Regions from separate parts of the Homo sapiens genome. Here region 1 is linked to region 2. The links are contacts of gene promoters, found by promoter capture Hi-C in human tissues and cell types (Jung and others, 2019). All regions are on one chromosome and are shown on one strand. Each heading gives the region's core, a stretch centred on a gene start or on the middle of the fragment in contact. The rest is flanking DNA. Distances are from core to core; before and after follow the strand shown. Region 1 overlaps CIDEC (cell death inducing DFFA like effector c). Region 2 holds the start of VHL (von Hippel-Lindau tumor suppressor).

The links. Contacts are between HindIII fragments. The study calls those that stand out against the background at their distance.
Region 1: a fragment that was not itself captured here is called in contact with the fragment with the promoter of VHL in region 2 in 2 of the 25 tissues and cell types used here (dorsolateral prefrontal cortex and hippocampus).

Annotation. Positions count from the first base shown.
Region 1 is chr3:9,863,943-9,867,553 of GRCh38, forward strand. It overlaps CIDEC (cell death inducing DFFA like effector c), which reads right to left. Exons shown (of 7, transcript NM_001321142.2): 7 at 2,772-3,354. The coding sequence ends at 3,192. Among named protein-coding and RNA genes, the nearest start is that of CIDEC, 15 kb to the right of the region's middle. RefSeq lists a silencer at 143-437. The HindIII fragment of the contact is 3,135 bases long and covers 126-3,260 here.
Region 2 is chr3:10,139,716-10,143,027 of GRCh38, forward strand. It overlaps VHL (von Hippel-Lindau tumor suppressor), which reads left to right and starts at 2,063. Exons shown (of 3, transcript NM_000551.4): 1 at 2,063-2,472. The coding sequence starts at 2,133. It also overlaps the pseudogene LOC124906359. RefSeq lists an enhancer at 2,980-3,312. The HindIII fragment of the contact is 25,425 bases long and covers 1-3,312 here.

The sequences.
Region 1 (3,611 bases), core at 443-2,942, 280 kb before region 2:
AACACGGTGAAACCCCGTCTCTACTAAAAATACAAAAAATTAGCTGGGCGTGGTGGCGGGTGCCTGTAGTCCCAGCTACTTGGGAGGCTGAGGCAGGAGAATGGCATGAACCCGGGAGGCGGAGCTTGCAGTGAGCCGAGATCACACTACTGCACTCCAGCCCAGGCGACAGAGTGAGACTGCGTCTCAAAAAAAAAAAAATTATATGCACAAATATGGGCATCGCTGGTAAGAAGAGTGGCAAAAACACAAGTGGTTCTCTTGTTTTGGGCTCAGACATGTGACTGTGGCATCACAGGCCCCCGGGATTTAGAATTCTTCTGAAAGGCATCCTGTGCACTCCCGAGCACCAGCTTGAACAGATGAAAAGGCTGAGCTGGAGGGGCTGGGACACAGTCCACCTTGACGACAGCTGCTCCTGGCTGTGCGGGGGGCCCCAGGAAAGGCCGTTCCCCCACTAGGACCGCCAGGCCCTACAGAGGCTCAAACTCCTTTGCTGTTTGGAATCTTCCCTCCCCAGCCCCCAAGCCTCATCAGAGGCTGCCTTTTCTGTTCACTGACCACAGCTGCTTTGACTCCATTAGCCTCGAGCTCCTGGAAGAAAAGAAAGAACCTTGTTTTCCCTGGGCTCAATGCCAAGAGACCATGGGCAGTTGCTCAAGATTCACTTGTGAAACTCCGGATCTCAGGAGGAGGGAAGCTTGGGACAAATACCGAGCCTCCCACCCCCACTCCAACTCTGTTACTGAGCACTTTACGGAAGGAGCAGGTAGGCCCCGCCACAGCTTCATCAAGGGTGGACTGGGATAGCTTCTGTGCTAATACAAACATCAGGCCTCCCTGCCAGACAGCCCACCCCATGGAGCCAGCCTGGCACCGGGCCAGCCTCCAGCCATAACTGCAAAAGAGCAGGAGAGCCCGGAATAGCAGGCCCTCTTCAGCGAGCTTCAGCCGCTTTGCCCATAGGCTGCAGGGTTTGGGTCCGCTGCCATAAATAGCTCCCAGACCATCTTTGGTAATATAGGCCTTTGCCTTAGTATTTACTACATCCAAATAGGCTTTATAGTAAGAGTAGTGAAACAATAGGTTTTGTTTTGTTTTTCGTTTTTTGTTTGTTTGTTTCTTTTTTGAGACGGAGTCTCACTCTGTCGTCCAGGCTAGAGTGCAATGGCACAATCTCGGCTCACTGCAACCTGCACCTCCCAGGTTCAAGCAATTCTCCTGCCTCAGCCCCCCGAGTAGCTGAGATTACAGGTGCCCACCACCATGCCCGGCCAATATTTTGTACTTTTAGTAGAGACGGGATTTGGCCATGTTGGCCAGGCTGCTCTCAAATGCCTGACCTTGTGATCCACCCGCCTTGGCCTCCCAAAGCGCTGGGATTACAGGCGTGAGCCACTGCGGCTGGCTGTGATAGAGTTTTTGAATCCTCTTTTTTTTTTTTCCCAGAGACAGGCTCTCACTCTGTTGCCCAGGCTGGAGTGCAGTGGCACAATCATAGCTCACTGCAGCCGCGACCTACTGGGCTCCAGTGAACCTCCTGCCTCAGGCTCCTGAGTAGCTGGGACTACAGCCACCATGCTCTGCTAATTTTTTTTTATTATCTAGTGTAGAGACAGGGTCTGGCTATGTTGCCCAGGCTGCTCTTGAACTCCTGGCCTCAAGCGATACTCCTGCCTCAGCCTCCCAAAGTGCCGGGATATCCGGCATGAGCCACTGCACCTGGCCAAGTTTTTAAATCTTTCAGTCACAGACTAAATAAAACAGTCACCTACAAGTTCTACAAGTTCAGCCTTTTTTTTTTTTTTTTGAGATGGAGTCTCGCTCTGTCACCCAGGCTGTAGTGCAGTGGCACGATCTTGGCTTACCACAACCTCTGCCTCCCAGGTTCAAGCGATTCTACTGCCTCAGCCTCCCAAACAGCTGGGAGTACAGGCGCCTGCCATGCTGGCCAGCTAATTTTTTTGTTTTTAATAGAAACCGGGTTTCACCATGTTGGTCAGGCTGGTCTTGAACTCCTGACCTCAGGTAATCTGCCTGGCTCGGCCTCCCAAAGTGCTGGGATTACGGCGTGAGCCACCATGCCCAGCCTAAGTTCAGCCTTTCATGCTTGTCTTGAGTTGTCCAATACTGGAAAATGCCAGCTCACACTGATGAGAAGCTCCTACTCTTTGGGGCTACCTATGAGCCCACTTTGAAATCCCGAGGTTGAAAGTCCTGAACATGAAAGATAAGCTGTCTGGCAAGTTAGGATGGGCATTGATGGAGAAATGCCTTACAGCTTGAGTAGTACTTTTTCACCTAACCACTTAAACGGTTATTATAAAATGGGACACTGAGAAATTAGAAGAGTGACTTAATCCCACCTGCTCAATTGAAGCTCCTCTGATAGGTGAATTTAATTAGGAAATTGTTACTTATGGTATCAATTACATGGTCAGCTCAAGCCTCAAATTCAGCTGACTTTAGTTTCAAAATCAACTGCAATTTTGTTTTTTAAGGAGCCTGGGGTCTTGCTATTGTGCTCCAGCCTGGCCTTGAACTCCTGGTCTCAAGGGATGCTTCCACCCCAGCTTGCTGAGTATCTGGGACTGCAGGCACGTGTCACTGTGCCCAGCTGTTTTTTTTTTTCTTCTTTGGTAGAAAAAGTGCCATTAGCTGTAATCCTACATTAAAGAGAATACTTTGACAATAGATTCGTCTCTTCCTTTAGCCCCCTCCAACCTTCCAGATAAAACCCCACCCCAAAGAACACAGGCAAAGAAGATACATCAGCCTCAATAATTTATTGCAAACTCCCTAATATCACATGCTAGTGCGCTTGCGAATTCACTCAGGAATGTTCCGGGATGGGGGCCAGAAGGTAGAGAGCACCATGAAAGTACAGCCTGCGAGGCCAGATTGCTAAGGGGCAGACTTCATGCCAATGGAGGGACAGACTTCAGGACCAGTCTGGATGGGCTAAGCTGCCTTGGGCAGGAAGGAGCTGGATCAGGCCAGGAGCTTGAGGTTCTCCTTTGGCCAACCCACCCCAGGTTTCCAGCTCCTCCTCCTCACTCAGGGTCCTGCGCGGTGAGGGAGGTGTGGGGAGGTTCGCGGCTCTACAGCTGCCAGGCTTGTGGGCACTACCAGTTAAGCGTGAGGCCCCCAGTCAGTCCTTCACTGGGGAAAGCTTCCAAGGACTTGGGCTTTCACTGCAGTATCTTCAGACAGGTCGGGATAAGGGATGAGGCCTTGCCCTTGGGGGGCTGCCCTTCCTCCGTAGCATCGAGGAGCTGCTGCAGGTAACAGGAGGTGCCAAGCAGTACGTGGCCTGTGGCCTGCATGCTGAAGAGGGCCCAGCGGAAAGCTTCCCTGGGTGGAATGAGAGGGCACGCAAGTCAAAACCACGAAGTAGGTCGGGCATGGCGTTCACGCCTGTAATCCTAGCACTTTGGGAGGCCATGGAGGGCGGGTAACCTGAGGTCAGGAGTTTGAGACTAGCATGGCCAACATGGCGAATCTCTGTCTCTACTAAAAATACAAAAACTAGGCAGGCATAGTGGTGGGTGACTGTAATCCCAGTTACTCCAGAGCCTGAGGCAGGAGAATCGCTTGAACCCAGGAGGCGG
Region 2 (3,312 bases), core at 813-3,312:
GGCTTACTGCAGCCTCAACCTCCCAGGCTCAAGTGATCCTCCTGCTTCAGCCTCCTGAGTAGCTGGGACTACAGGTGCACGCCACTATGCCTGGCTAATTCTTTCATTTTTTATAGAGACAGGACCTCGCTATGTTGCCCAGGCTGGTTCCAACTCCTGAACTCAAGTGATCCACCTGCCTTGGGCTCCCAAAATCTCGGGATTACAGGCGTATAGTGCTAGGCCTTCACATTCTTATATACCCTTCTGTTTCCTTAGCTGTGAAATGGAGATAATGACATAGCCTTAATTCACGTGGGATGCTTAGCACAGTGTCTGGCACTTGATAGATTTTTTTCTTTCTACTTGAAATTTATTTTTGAGCTGGGCACGGTGGCTCACACCTGTAATCCCAGCACTTGGGAAAACCAAGGCAGGCAGATTACCTGAGGTGAGGAGTTCAAGACCAGCCTGGCAAACATGGTGAAACCCCGTCTCTACTAAAAGTACAAAAATTACCTGGGTGTGGTGGCACACACCTGTAATCCCAGCTACTCCAGAGGCTGAGGCACGATAATCACTTGAACTCGGCAGATGGAGGTTGCAGTGAGCTGAGACTGAGCCACTGCACTCCAGCCTGGGTGATAAAGCGAGACTGTCTAAAAAAAAATTATTTTTAACTAATATAAAACTCTCTGAACCCTTCTTTTTCTGAGCTGCTTCTCCACTTGAGTCCATCCCACATCATTGAACATTTAATTACACAGAATTGTGTACCATCTTCCTTGACCCCCAGATCTTTAGCCTTCTATAGTACCCTGTCTCTTTTTGTCGTACTAGTCACAGTTGCACTTTTTTTTTTTTTTTTTTTGAGACAGAGTCTCATTCTGTCACCCAGGCTGCAGTGCAGTAGCACAATCTCAGCTCACTGCAACCTCCGCCTCCCGGGTTCAAGCAATTCTCCTGCCTCAGCCTCCTAAGTAGCTGGGATTACATGCGCGCACCACCACGCCAGGCTAATTTTTGTATTTTTAGTAGAGACGAGGTTTCACCATGTTGTCAGGCTGGTCTAGAACTCCTGACCTTGTGATCAGCCCACTTCAGCCTCCCAAAGTACTGGGATTACAGGCATGAGCCACTGCACCCGGCCATAGTTGCTATTTTATTTGTGTGATTGATTACCGTATGACGCTTTTATTGAAGTGCAGTGAAGGCAGGAAACATGACCGGTTTTTACAATATTTTCAACACTTATCACCATAGGTGGTACATAGTAGGGCCTTAATAAATATTTGTAAAATGAACAAAGTTAATGAGTGTTTATGTTTGTAGTTTTAATTGCTCTGAAGTAAATATCTGATTTTCCAATTTCCACCAGAGTGCTCTGCACATAGTAGGTCTAATTATTTTTCCCTCTTTACTAATCACCCATGCCTTGTAAGAATTCAGTTAGTTGACTTTTTGTACTTTATAAGCGTGATGATTGGGTGTTCCCGTGTGAGATGCGCCACCCTCGAACCTTGTTACGACGTCGGCACATTGCGCGTCTGACATGAAGAAAAAAAAAATTCAGTTAGTCCACCAGGCACAGTGGCTAAGGCCTGTAATCCCTGCACTTTGAGAGGCCAAGGCAGGAGGATCACTTGAACCCAGGAGTTCGAGACCAGCCTAGGCAACATAGCGAGACTCCGTTTCAAACAACAAATAAAAATAATTAGTCGGGCATGGTGGTGCGCGCCTACAGTACCAACTACTCGGGAGGCTGAGGCGAGACGATCGCTTGAGCCAGGGAGGTCAAGGCTGCAGTGAGCCAAGCTCGCGCCACTGCACTCCAGCCCGGGCGACAGAGTGAGACCCTGTCTCAAAAAAAAAAAAAACACCAAACCTTAGAGGGGCGAAAAAAAATTTTATAGTGGAAATACAGTAACGAGTTGGCCTAGCCTCGCCTCCGTTACAACGGCCTACGGTGCTGGAGGATCCTTCTGCGCACGCGCACAGCCTCCGGCCGGCTATTTCCGCGAGCGCGTTCCATCCTCTACCGAGCGCGCGCGAAGACTACGGAGGTCGACTCGGGAGCGCGCACGCAGCTCCGCCCCGCGTCCGACCCGCGGATCCCGCGGCGTCCGGCCCGGGTGGTCTGGATCGCGGAGGGAATGCCCCGGAGGGCGGAGAACTGGGACGAGGCCGAGGTAGGCGCGGAGGAGGCAGGCGTCGAAGAGTACGGCCCTGAAGAAGACGGCGGGGAGGAGTCGGGCGCCGAGGAGTCCGGCCCGGAAGAGTCCGGCCCGGAGGAACTGGGCGCCGAGGAGGAGATGGAGGCCGGGCGGCCGCGGCCCGTGCTGCGCTCGGTGAACTCGCGCGAGCCCTCCCAGGTCATCTTCTGCAATCGCAGTCCGCGCGTCGTGCTGCCCGTATGGCTCAACTTCGACGGCGAGCCGCAGCCCTACCCAACGCTGCCGCCTGGCACGGGCCGCCGCATCCACAGCTACCGAGGTACGGGCCCGGCGCTTAGGCCCGACCCAGCAGGGACGATAGCACGGTCTGAAGCCCCTCTACCGCCCCGGGGTCCATTTTGCAGACGGGGAACTGAGGCCCCTTGAGGCAGGACACATCCAGGGTGACGCTGCTCGTAAGCGTCAGAGCATTCTTTTTTTTTTTTTTTTTTTTCTGAGACGGAGTCTCGCTCTGTCGCCCAGGCTGGAGTGCAGTGGCGCGATCTCGACTCACTGCAGCCTCCGCCTCCCGGGTTCAAGCGATTCTCCTGCCTCAGCCTCCTGAGTAGCTGGGATTACAGGCGTGCGCCACCGCGCCCGGCTGATTTTTATATTTTTAGTAGAGACGGGGTTTCACCATGTTGGTCAGGCTGGTCTCGAACTGCTGACCTCGTGATCCGCCCGCCTCGGCCTCCCAAAGTGCTGGGCTTATGGGCATGAGCCTCCGCGCCCGGCCCAGAGCATTCTTTATAAGGCCGAATAGTTTGCATTTGAAGGTGGCTCCCCCCAGTCCCCCACCCCACGTGTATTTTCCCCTCAAAGAAAAGCTGCATCCTTAACACCCCATCTGTTCAGTCCTCATGACTCCAGTGGGCCAGTTCTGCGTAGTCCCTGCCCTCGTGGAGAACACATTCCTCCTGGGGAGACTGACAGATGCAAAGACAGGAACAAGCCAGGGTCATGTTGGCGCCGGAAGAGCCGACCGTGTGTGGCGTGGGAAATTGACTTACCTGCCTGCTGGGAGATGGAGGGGTTGCGGTTGTGTGGTTTCAGTTAAGGAGCACTTCCCGGAGAAGGAAGAGAGCAGGATGGAGTAGGAACTAGCCAACCCTAGGTAAGA